Linked DNA regions of Homo sapiens: region 2 is linked to region 1. The links are contacts of gene promoters, found by promoter capture Hi-C in human tissues and cell types (Jung and others, 2019). All regions are on one chromosome and are shown on one strand. The core of a region is centred on a gene start or on the middle of the fragment in contact, and the rest is flanking DNA. Distances in the headings are between cores, read along the strand shown. Region 1 holds the start of NPM3 (nucleophosmin/nucleoplasmin 3). Region 2 overlaps FBXW4 (F-box and WD repeat domain containing 4).

The links. Contacts are between HindIII fragments. The study calls those that stand out against the background at their distance.
Region 2: a contact is called between a fragment that was not itself captured here and the fragment with the promoter of NPM3 in region 1, in 3 of the 25 tissues and cell types used here (heart left ventricle, lymphoblastoid cells and mesendoderm cells).

The regions. Positions count from the first base shown.
Region 1 is chr10:101,778,754-101,785,577 of GRCh38, reverse strand. It overlaps NPM3 (nucleophosmin/nucleoplasmin 3), which reads left to right and starts at 2,132. Exons shown (of 6, transcript NM_006993.3): 1 at 2,132-2,305; 2 at 2,654-2,739; 3 at 2,981-3,100; 4 at 3,227-3,320; 5 at 3,724-3,851; 6 at 3,946-4,253. The coding sequence starts at 2,188. The coding sequence ends at 3,842. It overlaps OGA (O-GlcNAcase), which reads left to right. Exons shown (of 16, transcript NM_012215.5): 16 at 1-1,128. It also overlaps a transcript of FGF8 not described here. RefSeq lists enhancers at 2,565-3,204, 4,132-4,426, 4,305-5,155, 5,233-5,362, 5,003-5,900 and 1 more, a silencer at 5,583-5,662 and a promoter at 4,272-6,824. The HindIII fragment of the contact is 4,177 bases long and covers 1,095-5,271 here.
Region 2 is chr10:101,654,949-101,661,560 of GRCh38, reverse strand. The region is part of intron 5 of FBXW4 (F-box and WD repeat domain containing 4); the gene reads left to right. Among named protein-coding and RNA genes, the nearest start is that of FBXW4, 37 kb to the left of the region's middle. The HindIII fragment of the contact is 6,704 bases long and covers 1-4,959 here.

The sequences.
Region 1 (6,824 bases), core at 883-3,382:
GGCGTAGGCCATGACCATTTGGGGTACGAGAGCCTAATTTTGTAGGACTTAATCTGTTGAAAAGTGCAGTTACTTCTGGAAATTAACCTCAATATTAGGTCAGCATGTGAAATGTTGGATTTGACATGTCAGGTAGGGTTCAGGGACTGATTGGTCCCATTTGCCCTCAGGTCAGTTGTTTAATCTCAAGACCTGTTACTACTGATTTTATTAAATCAGAGTCTTTAATTCTTGCATGTTTGTATCTAATTTCTGAATGAATGAGCACACTTTAACCAGTTATTTACAGTTACCTTTTTCCTTTAACCGGATTGTGAAAGCTTCATGTATTTTAATTTAGATTCTGTGTTTTTAAGGGTTCTGAGCATGAAGCTGGCAGATAGTCGGCAGGACTCATTTTTTCATCATGGCTGGCTGATTTCTCCATAGATTGATAACAGTATTTTGTTATCTTGCTTCTCTGTAGTTTTGCATCAGCTGTTTAACTTTGAGCTGAGTGAGGGGAGAGGGGTAAAGAGAAAGAAACTTAAGTTTTCTTTCACAGAACTCCACCATTGTGGGCTTTGAGAGAGCCCTAAAGCATTGTACCTAGTGGTACCTAGTGACTTCCAACCAAAGCCTTTGAGTATGCACTAAATAGGTGAGAAGAAAGGAGAGAAGGTTTTTAGGTTAGAAACCTTTAACCGATAGAAGGATATGGTATGTTGTAAAGCTGGAACCAAGTTTGCATTTTTGAGGGCTTGAGATGAAGGGAAGACTCTTACCAGATAGTAAGACAGCTGAGTTTTCCTCAGTTTTCTCGTCTTAACACTAGTGGACAATTCTAGCATTTTGTTTGGAGGATTTCAGAGTTAACCTCATGGAATTCAGGATTTTTTAGCAAGTTTGCTTTTGGTTTTATCTTGGCTTTTAGTAATCATGTTGGCTGGTCTGGTCACAGGTGACTGTGAAACAGATGCCCTGGTCTTGCTTTCATCACTCTAGGATCATGAAGTGCTATGCTATTTCCTGGTTATGAATATTAAGGTTGGAATTACATTTTTATTGATTGTTTGGATCAGAGCTCAGTTCCTGTAGAAAACGAACTGTAAAAGACCATGCAAGAGGCAAAATAAAACTTGAAGTGAATGCTTGTCGTGTTGTATTGTGTGAATCTATTTCCTGTCTGCCCCCTCCCTTTTCTCCTCTTTCATGCCTCACCTACAAGCAGGTATTCTCTCCTCTCCACAGCTGTTCCAAGTTAGAGATTGGATCTTGAAGGCAGCCCTCCCCTACCTCCATCACCAGTAAGACTTCCAGATTTTCATTAAGACAAGAGCTAAGAAAAGTAGACTAGTTTTTAGCCAAGCCACCCCACCCTCTTGCCACAGTTATAACCTGGATGTGAAATAGGGCCTCTAGTTTGAGTTTTGCCATCTATTAGGATAGAAAGCACACAGTTTGCCTGATTCTTAAAAGGCGAAAGATGGCGCGAGTAGCATAAACTGACAAAATAATCCACGGCGCAAAGATACTCCTGGATGATTTGGAATTAAAAGCTCAAAAAGCGTGGGTGGGCCAGGAACAGCCAACACACATGAGCTAACTAGTCCTCTGCTAGCAAGTGCCAGCAGCTAAGTCTCAGTGAAGGCATAGCAAGTTGCGGGGTCTTTAGAGCAGGAAGAATTAAGAGAGGCTTAGCCGAGAGGACAGACAGGACAGACGTGTTGGGATGGAAATTCCTAAGGCTCCTCGGCTCTCTTGAGGCAAAGACAATCTGAGTGCATTTCCTTTGCTTGTAGCAGAAAAGCACTGCCCTGAACCCCACCTTTGCTGGGAGGAGTAAGAAGGGTTTACATTTTTATATCTATAACTCCTTTAACGAAAGCTTACCCTGGGTTGGAAGAGTGGGAGACACTCTTCCGACACAGAGCGAGGAGCTTGGGGAAGTGGACACCCTCATGGTCGTGGAAATGAGCAAGGATGTTAACATAAACCCCAAATCCATTCTTCTGTGATGTTACTTCCTTTCTCTTCGGTCTTGATAAAATATGAGCAGAAGCTGCGGGCTCCGGGTAGGGCTGCGGGGTCTCGGCGCCTTTTCTTTTCCAGGACTGTGCGTCTCCTTTAATGGGCGGGGCCGGAACTGGCCGAGGGTCCCCGGCTTTGTGCGTGTCGGGGGCGGAGTTTGAAGAAGGCTCTTACAGCATGGCCGCCGGTACTGCAGCTGCCTTAGCGTTTTTGAGTCAGGAGAGCCGAACGCGGGCCGGGGGTGTCGGGGGCCTACGGGTCCCGGCCCCGGTCACTATGGACAGTTTTTTCTTCGGTATTAGTGAAGGGAGAGGCTGAGGGTGGTACTGGGGCGGTAAGAGGTAGGGATGTGAGGCGGGAATGCGGAGGGTTTCAAGGCGTGGGTGTGGGCGGAGGGCTGCTTCGCTGTTCCCGCAGGAGAGGGGGCCTCGCACGCACAGCCAAAGGGGGTGGCGAGATCCCTGCCCCAGATGTGTTGGGCGGGGCCCACGGCAGAGCGTCCCAGGTGTTCTGAGAGAAGAGACGGAGGTGGACGTGTAAATGACCCGTCCGCCCAAGGTTACACGTGACGGCGGGTTGGTGACATCCCCCGCTGCCCAGCCCCGTACACACGCTCAGGCATACTCACTGTTATTTCTACCAGGCTGTGAGCTCTCCGGCCACACCCGCTCCTTCACCTTTAAGGTAGAGGAAGAGGATGATGCGGAGCACGTGCTGGCACTAACCATGGTGAGGGGCAGGGGAGTGGGGTTTTAATGAATAAGCCCAGGCAGGCAATATAGGTCTCTACCCAACCTCCGGATCCCCTTTACTTGGAGACACATCCTCAGCCTAACCCCCCGGCATGGGCGGCTCCCCTGGCCAGGTGAACCGGGACCTCTGAGGCTGGGCAGGTGCTAGGGTAGATGCCTTTAGTTGTGGTGTCAACCCTCACTTGAGGAGACCCTGAGGCCCTGTGTACCGTTCCCAGCTCTGCCTCACCGAGGGAGCCAAAGACGAGTGTAATGTGGTAGAAGTTGTGGCCCGGAACCATGACCATCAGGAGATCGCAGTCCCTGTGGCCAACCTCAAGCTGTCCTGCCAACCCATGGTGAGTTCCCCAGCTCTGCCTTGGTGGTGGTGGTGGTGGTGGTGAGGGGATTGAGGACGTTAGCACTCATTACAGTGTGGGGTGGGCTAGGAGTGGGCCAGGCCTTCATCCTTGTCTTCCTCCCAGCTCAGTCTGGATGACTTCCAGCTCCAACCACCTGTAACCTTCCGCCTGAAGTCGGGCTCTGGCCCTGTGCGGATCACTGGGCGGCACCAGATTGGTGAGAAGAGGGGAGGGCCCTCTCCTTTGCTTCCAGTGGACTCTCCCATCAGGCTTCCCCCACTCCGCACTCCTGCCCCATCCCACCCTCATCTCCCAGTGCAGCCCTGTACAGGTCTGTGTGCCCTCCACGCTGTGCCCTGTGCATGACATGCCCTCTCCTTTCCGTCTACTCAAGCCTACCTCCTCCATGGAACATGGCCCAACTTCTCCAGCTCCAATAATGAAGACTCCTTTGGCTCTTTGTGACCCAGTTTAGGGTCTGAGGTTCTTCCCACCTAGCCCATAAGCACTGGGAGGTCATGGTCCCTGTAAGCCTAACACCACGGCGTGAAGAAATGGCATGCGGTGTGAAACGGTCTGGTCTTAACACCCCATCCTTCTACTGCTTGTGTGTCCACCAGTTACGATGAGCAATGATGTTTCTGAGGAGGAGAGCGAGGAAGAGGAAGAGGACAGTGATGAGGAAGAAGTTGAGCTGTGCCCCATCCTTCCTGCCAAAAAGCAGGGGGGCAGGCCCTAGCCCTCCTAGGTGAGTTGCGGGGAGAAGTGCCTAGCAGGCTCTGGGAAGGGGCAGGAGAAGCAGGTGAGGGCCTAAATGCTGATTCCTTGTTTCCTCTTTTCAGGTCAGCTCCATGTGCCATGCACCGCCATGCACCCTGTTCCCTGACAAGTTTCAACAATTGTAAATATTTCTTCCTTGAAGAGGAGAGCTTGGGTGGGGGTTGGGTGGGAGGGACTTGGGTCTTTGGTGCTAGGAGAGGGCCTGTGCTCCACACAGCCGTGGTTTTCTGATTTTCACCATGCCCGGGGCCTCCCTTCCCACCTGCCTGTGAGAATTGGAGGTTAGTGCCTGAAGCTCAGAGCTACACATTTTTAATAGTTTTTACATTTTTGGATAAAGGTTGAAATAAAGTGGTGTGGAGTTTTTGCAGCTCTTGTGTGGCTTCTTCCTGTGCTGGGTGATGTTTCCCTAGGGACCGCCAGGTGGCACTGTGGAAGCACCCAGCGTGGCCCTGGGCCTGGGGGAGGGTGGAGAACTGTGGGATCCTCTACCCTCATGGCCCTGGGCTAGGACCTGGGGCCTGGGCCCCAGTTGCCTTGCTGGAAGGGGACCTCCCAACACTCAGCCCATTCCCAGTCTCTGCAGGTGGGAGAGGGTCATCGCAGGAGGTTATCAGCATCCAAACAAGGGGTCTGGGCCTCTGTCAGCACTCGGCTGATGGGCAGGGGGGCAGATAAGCGAGCTTAGGCAGCCTGAGGAATGCGCGTCCCTAGCCCCACGAGGGTCTCTGGCCCAGAGAGGGCCTGTGAGGGCAGGGCGGGACCAGGCTTCGCTCCTCCTTTGAGCCTTGCAGGCTGTCTCTGAGCAGGGCTGGGCCCTTAGAGAAACCTGACTCCGGGGGCCAGATGGAGGGGACTGGCCAGATTGGGTGACAGGGAAACCAGAATCCGGGTGGCCTGGCATATGGGGGCAGAAAGGGGCCCCAGGGAATTTGCCTCCTGGACTAAGGGATTCTTGTCCCCCACACACCGTGGGGTCTGGGGGTCTTTGGTGCCTGGAATCAGGTAGTTCTGGCACTTGGCTGCCTTTGTGCCAGGAAGAACTGACACACCTGGTTTGAGGATGAGTGTATGTGACCAGCTCTGGGGTCAGCAGTTCAGCAGCTGTGTTGGTTGTGGGGGGAGGGTTGTCAATGCCCACAAACAAACAAACAAACAAAACATTGCCTCCCCAGACAACCTGGGGCCAGACAGGCTGAGGATAGACAGAGAACAGGGCCTGATGGGGGTCAGGCCAACTCCCACTCCCAGCCTCTAGTCAAGGGGGAGGGGCCCCGGGATATCGCGGGCTGGTGGTTCTGGGGCAGGTGAGGTCAGCTTTGAAGACCTTGCGTCCGCAGTACCGACCCGCACGCTCTTCAGCGCATCCCTAGTGAAGGAGGTTCTCCCCCAGCCCGTGGTGAGGAACTAGGGGTCCAGTTTCCAACCTCCCTCTTCCTCAAGTTGAGGACAAAGGGAGATGACGCCCGTCTGTGTTGCGGTGATCTGGGTCGCAGGCGCCTTTCTCCGATCCAGGAGGGCGCTGCTAAAAATGCTTCCCTGGGGAGCCCGGCGGAGGGGCGGCCTGGCTGGGAACCATGGGTCTCGCTGCGGAGCGCGGTCGGCAGGGAGAGGGAAGTCGGGGCTGGCGCCCTCTGGCGGGCGAGGTTGAAGCCGCTCGTGGTCGTACCGCTTCCCTGGCCTCTAGAGGCTCCGGGCGGGCGCCGTGGGGCCGGGGCCTCCGAGTCCCGCCACTGCTCTGGGCGGCCGAATCTTGGGCGGAAGGCGGGGGAATGCCACTGAGGCTTGCATGCATGCGTGCATACGTTCATTCATTCATTCGAACGACTTGAGTTGGAGTGGGGAAGTCTGGCTGTGGCCCTCACTCCTCTTTCCCTTCCTCTTCTTGGCCCCAGCCTCCAAAGTCCTCGGCACGTGCTTGGCAGGAGGAGCGGGAGACTGGCTGAGTCCTCTCTCCTGGGAGGCCTCCCTAGCTGACCCATCTACCCCCTGCGCGGCTCCGCCCCAATATTTACCCCACCCACCCCCCGCGATGCCACTGATCGCTCCTTGCATTTCTCGCCGGTTTTCCGGGTAGGTCTCCCGGTGGGCGCGGGCCTGCGCCGAGCACGCTCCTGCCCGCAGTGGGGGCCCAATCCACATCAGCCTCTCGGCCCAAGAGTTTCTCGGCCGGTTGGGGCGCCCCGCGGACACAGCTGGGCAAGGTTTATTCCTCTCTCCTCGCCCCAGCCTCTCCTCGAGCCCTCTTCTTTGCCCTTCAGCGCACAGTAGGAGCGCTGCCGGCTCACTGTGGCCTCAGACCCCTGGGGGATGAAGGCATACGCCGGGGTTTGCCGACTGCTGGAGGAAGGGCAGGCTTCTATTTGGGGGCCGAGGGAGACGACTCCCAGACAGTGGCCGAAGTGCTTAACGTAGTCTCGGCGATTTGCATTTGAACGGTCGGCAGTGAGTCCGCGGCGCTTTGAACGCCCGGCGCAGGAAGCGCGCGTCGGAGCGAGCTGCGGTCTCCGGCGGGTGTGGATTGGAGGGGCCGGGGGATGGGCTGGGATCGAGGGGTGCGTTTGGAAATAGGCTGAAGTAGTGTGTCTGGGTGCAGGCGAGGGCGTGTCTGCGGAGATGGGCCGTTTGTGTTGGCGAGGAGTGTGTGTTTGTGTTTGCAGGCGAGGGAGTTTGTGTCTGTGCGTGTGTGTGTTTGTGTTTGCGGAGTGTGGGGGCGGCCAGGAAAGGTGGCCGGGCTGTCACTCAGCGATCAGGTTGACAGGCGCTCCCTCATCTGGGCCAGGGAGCTCTGATTGCAGATTCGAGGAAACAAAATAGCAATTGTAATTACCGGGCTTTGATAAGATAAAGGAGGGAGGGAGCTGGCCGGGAGGCGGGCGAGCCAGCAAGGGAGGGAGCGGCCTGCGGGGGCCCGGCGGGACATTTGCATCTGTCAGTCACG
Region 2 (6,612 bases), core at 358-2,857, 120 kb after region 1:
GCCCACTGGTTCAACTGGCAGCAAGCTAAAATTGGAAAGGGATCAGTGTGGGGATGTCATTGATTTGGAGTCAGGTCCTGCTAAATCTCAGTACAGTGCCCTCCACCCTGGAGTTCATTGCCCATGCATATGCAAGCCTCTCAGACAGTCATATCCATCAGTAGCAAGGACCAAATACCACAGGGGTGGGTTTCAATTCCTCAAGACCCTGGATTTCTGCCATTACCCAGGGCAGGATAGGCACAGGGAGGCTCATGTGCTGAGCTGCTGGGCTGAGACCAGCACTCTCCGAGCCCTGGCTGGCCCAGAACCCATTTGTGGGAGCAGCTCCTTCCTTGGCCAGCACGATTGGCCCACTTGTCAAGAGCCGACTTACATGAAACCCTACAAGTAGAAGCAGAGGCTCCTGCAGACGGCTGAATACTGTGGATACAGAGTTGATGTGTCCAGACTTGGCCCCCTGCTAACAGGGATGCATTTCTATCCCTCAGTCTAGTGTTTAAATTCTTTCTTTCTCCATCTCTGTCTCTGTCTTTCTTTCTCTCTCCCTTCCTCCTCAATACCCACCTTCCACTCTCTGTCTTTCTCTCTTCAGATACTCCTTAAGCATTACCATGTTCTGGTCACTAGAGAGACAACAGTGAACTAGACAGCATAGTCTGATGGGAGAGACCGACAAGTAAAATAGGTAGTAGAGTGTGGTAAGTTCTCAGATGAGGTTGAGACAGGGCCTTGGGAGCACGCTGGACGGATCAGTCATCTTTCTCTTCCTCCCACTGCCTACACCTCCTGGCTCCAGTCCCTACCTGCACCACTCTTTCTTCCACTCTGCTCATCAGGAAGGGAAATGGGAATTTTCCTGCTTTAGCTGCTGCTGACTTTTCTGGGTTGTGTGTGCAACGTGCCTGTGTTTTTCCACCTTTGATCACCGTTCTGCCAACAGATAATTTAGCAATCACATCCCAAAGTGGAAGCATGGAGTTAATGTTAAAATTAGTTTTCTTTTTTTTCTGTCTTTAAATTTCAGTGGGTGATGAGGCAGAGAGGGAGGCGGGAGGGTGAAGGGGAGCCATAAATTCTGTGGCTGGTGTAGCTGTTCTCTGAGCAGCCGGGAAGCCTCTGATGTCTCCACAGCACTTTCATTAACATTTAAATTAAGGGTTTGTTTTTCAGTCTGTTTTATAGGCAGGGACCTTTCATGGCCTGTCACATGCAGCACCCACCCCCCCTCCCAACCCAACTTCCCAAGCAAGTGTGTAATTGTAGCCACTGCTGTATCCTAATCTGTGTTGCAGTCGGAGGTTCAAAGGGAATTCCTGGAGCTGGAGTTTTGGAGGTACAAGATGTAATAGTCAGGATGTCGGTGTTACTCCTCAAATGAAGGTGCTGTGTAGGAGCTCTTTCTCCTCTTATCTGACCTGTGCTTTCTCAGCTCTTCAAGGGACACACACTTCAATCTGACTCCGACCCCTCCCGCCCTTCCTTCCTTTGGGCCATGGGGCAGGTAGGAAAGGGTGCAGTCCATTCAAGTGATTTCTCCTTATATTACAAGTTAGGGCCGGGGACAGACTATTCTAAGATACAGATTTCCATGCTTATCTTCCTCCTTTTGATTATTATTATTATATTTTAGCCTCACAAATACTTCCACCTACCCCACTGACTCTTGGAGAAGTAATAAAATAAATGGGATTACCATCTGAGAATTTGTAATTACAGTAGGGTCCTTTGGTCCTAAAAAGTGTATTCTAACATGGATATGTGTATGCATACCATACATACTAGCTCTGCATGTACCTTGTTGGAAATAGCTTACTGATTGAATTTGATAAAGCTATTCTCCCAGATCTATGTATTCAGAAGAAACTCTACTACAACCTCAGGTTTCTGAGCTTCCTTTCACACAGAAATATTTGGCAGCATTTGGGGAGGTTTTGAAAAGACATCCCTGCTCTGGTCTCCTTCCCATCAGCACCCTGTTGATCTGTAGATGACAAGAATGTGTACTAGACACACATGAAGCATCTCATTGCTTCATAACCTCTGAGGGCTTAGTTTTCCCACTGCTGGTCTCTAGGTAGCTTTCTTCTCTGGACAGTGAAGAGAGGAGCATTGGGACCTTTCTCTCTTTCTGTTCAGAGGCTGAGAGTTTCCTTTCCCTTGGAGCCTGGACTTTACTGCACGAGTCACTGCATCTTTCCTCCTTCCTCCACTAAGCCACTCAAACCATCCATGACTTATCTGCAGGGTTCAAGATGGCTGAGTGTTTTGCCCTTCTATGCCAGGTAACCTTGTGAACAGGTGGACACCCTCATGCCCTGGGGTCTTGCCGAAGGGGAGTGAGGGAGGTGCTGGGGCAACCCCTCTGCAGGTGCTGCTTGGGCTCAGATTGCATGCTGGTGTCCAGGCCCCTCCTGGTGGTGATTAATCTGGGACACGGGCCGACAGAGGCCCAGCCAGGGCTGCTTTGGTCCCTCACTGTGAAGACCTTTGGCTTGGAGACTGAACTGATCTCTATAGCCTGCTTCGGCTTGGGGTTTGATCTGTCAAGGCTAAAGAGGAACCTGATGGTAGAGCGGAAACTTGTAGCCCTGTCTGACTTATGGCACTGATCCGTTCCAGTGGCCTTGTCATGATAATACTCGTATATTTAAGAAGATTTCCCCACCTGTTAGCTGTAACACTCAGATCAGTCAAAAGAGGGATCTTCATGAAAAATCTGTGCTTTTAGTTTTTTGAGCCAATGGAGCTTACTCTTGTAAGTAGACTAGGGGCTGGGTAGGGGTTTCTAATGAGAATGAGTAAAAAAGGCAATAATGAGGTTGTGGCTGGATTAGTAACAGAATGTATGTTTTTATGTGGAGGGGGTCATATCACAGGTAGAAGGATCACTCCATCCTCCTGCAATTAGGTGGCTCTCAGGCCACTTGGAGCAGATTTTCAGATTTCAGTATCTAGAATCAAGTCTTACCTTCCTCATTTTCTTTTTCATTTCAAACCATTCCCCCCTGCCACCCAGACGAAGTCTTGCACTGTTGCCCAGGCTGGAGTGCAGTGGCGCGATCTCGGCTCACTGCAACTTCCGCCTCCTGGGTTCAAGCAATTGTCCTGCCTCAGCCTCCTGAGTAGCTGGGATTACAGGCGCATGCCACCACGCCTGGCTAATTTTTGTATTTTTAGTAGAGACGGGGTTTCACCATGTTGGGCAGGCTGGTCTTGAACTCCTGACCTTATGATCCACCTGCCTTGGCCTCCCAAAGTGCTGGGATTATAGATGTGCGCCACCATGCCCGGCCTCAAACCATTTTTTTTATTTTTAAATAGGCCTCCCTCTCCCTTTCTATGTACCAGAGTCCTGGTCCCCAGGACTTCCAAGCGGCAGTACATGGTGCCAGCTATATTTCTTCTCTGAGTTCAGGACAATCACACGTGGCTCCACTTGATAATGGGCTTAAGGCCCAAGAATAGGAATTCTGTTGCCCATGACAGTTTCTCTGAATCAGTGAGTCTTAGTGAGTTTCATCATTACGGTAGTGCCATTTGGCAGTTAGAAGCTTGGGATTAAGAGCTAGGGAATTTTCCTCATACCATGGAGAAAGAGAATAGGCACCATGTTGTACACTAGTAGAATATGTTGATACTGTTGATGTGGGAAGCTGGCTATAGAGACCCTATGAATCATAAAGGTTGTGTTGATACTGAATTTTGCTTTGCTGACTAGAATTTTACACATGATGACAATAAAGAATACATGCATCAGCAGATCAATGAATATTTTTGGCTCTTCCTTCAGACTAGTACTAAAAGGTCTCTGACTACGGATTGGACATCTGCTAATCCCTGTGCCTCTCTAGCAGTTTCTTGAACAAGACTCTTTAGAAGTTTCAGATAGTGAGCTTTTTTTTTTTTTTTTTTTTTTTTGAGACAGAGTCTCGCTGTGTTGCCCAGGCTGGACTACAGTGGCGTGATGATGATCTCAGCTCACTGCAACTTCCACCTCCCCGGTTCAAGTGATTCTCTTGCCTCAGCCCCCCAAGTAGCTGGTACTACAGGCAAGCATCACCACACCCAGCTAATTTTTGTATTTTTAATAGAGATGGGGTTTCACCATGTTGGCCAGGCTGGTTTCGAACTCCTGACCTCAGGTGATGCCATCCACCTTGGCCTCCCAAAGTGTTGGGATTACAGGCATGAGCCACCGTGCCTGGCCAGATAGTGAGCTTTTGGAAGTAGGCGTTTTATTTCTTGTCTCATGTAAGAGTTATGTGCTTGTGTGCCTCAGACGAAATCCCTCTGCCTCTGGGGTGCCCTAGTAAAATGATTACCCAAGACCCTTGCCTCATTTCCAAGCTTGTTCTTACTCCTCTCTTGGGCCAGGACATTTTCCACAGGGAGTAATGGGTAACATGGTCTGTGGGATCCTGTCATATAGGCTTGGCTCAGGCCTATCTGAGGTGCTGACAAGGGCGGGAGGATTGGAGGGAGGAGGGAAGTGACTATGTGCATGCAGAAGCCATGGTAATTGCAAAGGGAATATTAGTCCAGGAGCTGCTGGCCCAGGAAATTGCTTTCTGTAGAAGCTTTCCTTTTCATGGTTTTCAATGCAAATTGAAAACATAAATGGGCACAGAAAAGTGTAGGGGGGACAGGTGGGGTGCCAGTTGGGATGTGATAACATCCAAAATCTTCAGCAGGGTCTTAATTTGCAGAAGAGAATTTCAAGTAACAAGAGAGAACCTTATAGGATATTAAAATAATGTTAGAGCATGTTTTGCTGTGACCTTCCCACCCCCATGTTTTCCATGTACTTGTGTTTAGGCTCGTCTCTGGGCCTGCTTAGCTTGCCCTGCTGCCTCTTCCTCCGCTCCTTCCCACAGCAAAGCCATAATCCAGCTTTTAGAACAATGGCCATGGTAGTCATGGCATAGTATTTTGGTTTTCACAGCAGGCTGGGAAACAGTAGCCCCATCCAAAGTCAGTGTGCTTTAGAAAATGTACACATTGGTCCTGGGGACTGGAGCCTCCATATGTGGGCTAAAGAACATGCCTCTTGAAGGCAGGAGCTTGCCTGCTTTGAGAAGGTGTTAAAGCCAAGGCTCATTTATGTGTTCTCTCTTAAGATCAGCGGGTAGGCTTGATGAAGTAGAATGTGAGGCCACCAGGCCTTTTTCCTCTCTCGATTTCCCACACCTCTAGAGAGGTGTGACTTTCTGGTTCCAGGCTGGAGACACTTATGTCTGTGTTGCCTCTGGATGCTTTGGGGATACTGGCCAATAGGATAAGCATGGGGTGACCACCACTTTGATTATGTTGGCATAGCAAGTGATCAGGTGAGAAGCTTCAGACTGGTTTCTTTCTAGCTGCTGAGCTAGACAAGAAGACACAAAAACAGGCCAAAAGGCAGTGTGGAGGGTGAGCTTTTCCAGTGTAAATATACCCAAGTAGTAGAGAATACTATGGAACTGTGGGGGCTTCTTCGCTTCCTTTGTGTGGGGTTTCAGTGCGCAGGTGACATGCATTGGCTGAAGAAAAAGCTGAGATGTGTGAGGTAAAGTGAAATGTACCCTTTCTGCCTGTCCCCACCATGAGTGTTCCTTCCTCGCTTCTTCATTGATTGGGGAATTTTGAAAGAGAAATTAGCTTGATTCTTGCCCTGGGTCCAAGCTGTGGTGCCTGGTCAGAACTTGAGTTTCAGGAGCAGTCTCCCACTAGGATGCTGTCCAGATGTAATCAGCCACTGCTTAGCACATGCTCCTCATCCCAGACTTACGGCATCATGGCCCTTCCGGGCTGGAGAGGGTCCAGTCCAGAGCACGAGACTCACTGTCTCTTTCTCCCAAGGACTCGACTCATGCAGGGTGTTTCCTTCTCCTGCTATTTTCCGCCTTGTTGCAGCTGCAGCTTTAGCTGTCCTAGAGAAACCTGGGTCTTTCCTCCTGTGCCTGAATGAGAAGAGAACAAGTGAGTGATTAGGGTGGGGTCCTATGGTAAATGACCTAAGAGAAGGGTCAGCTGGGCATGATGGTGAGATTTGTAACATTTGGCAAAGAGGAAGACACACATGTGTTAATGCCTTTGAAGTGTTCTTTCCCTGCCAGTTGGACTCTTACTAGTATCCAGGGTGAGCTGTGGTTGAGAATTTACAAAAATTAATAGGAAAAAAAACCACAAATTATTCAAAGGATTCTTCCAGTTGTTAGAAGTCTTTGGTCCGGAAAATCCTTCTTTGCAGGCTGATAAGGATGAGTTCAAGAATAAAAAGAGGAAAAGTTAGAGTTTTTAAATTGCATTAGGTTGTCAATGAGTATCAAAATTAAAACATGAAAACCTTTTGACACAGAAATTCCACTTCTAGGAATTCATTGTAAGGCAATAACCAGACAATTCTGCAAGATATATGTACAAAGACTTACATTAAGAACACATAAATAGGCCAGGCATGGTGGCACACACCTGTCATCCCAGCACTTTGGGAGGCTGAGGTAGGAGGTTCACTTGAACCCAAGAGCTCAAGACCAGCTTGGGCAACAGAGTGAGACCCCATTTCCACAAAAAAATCTAAAAACAAAATTAGCCAGGCATGGTGACATGCTCCTGTAGTCCCAGCTACTC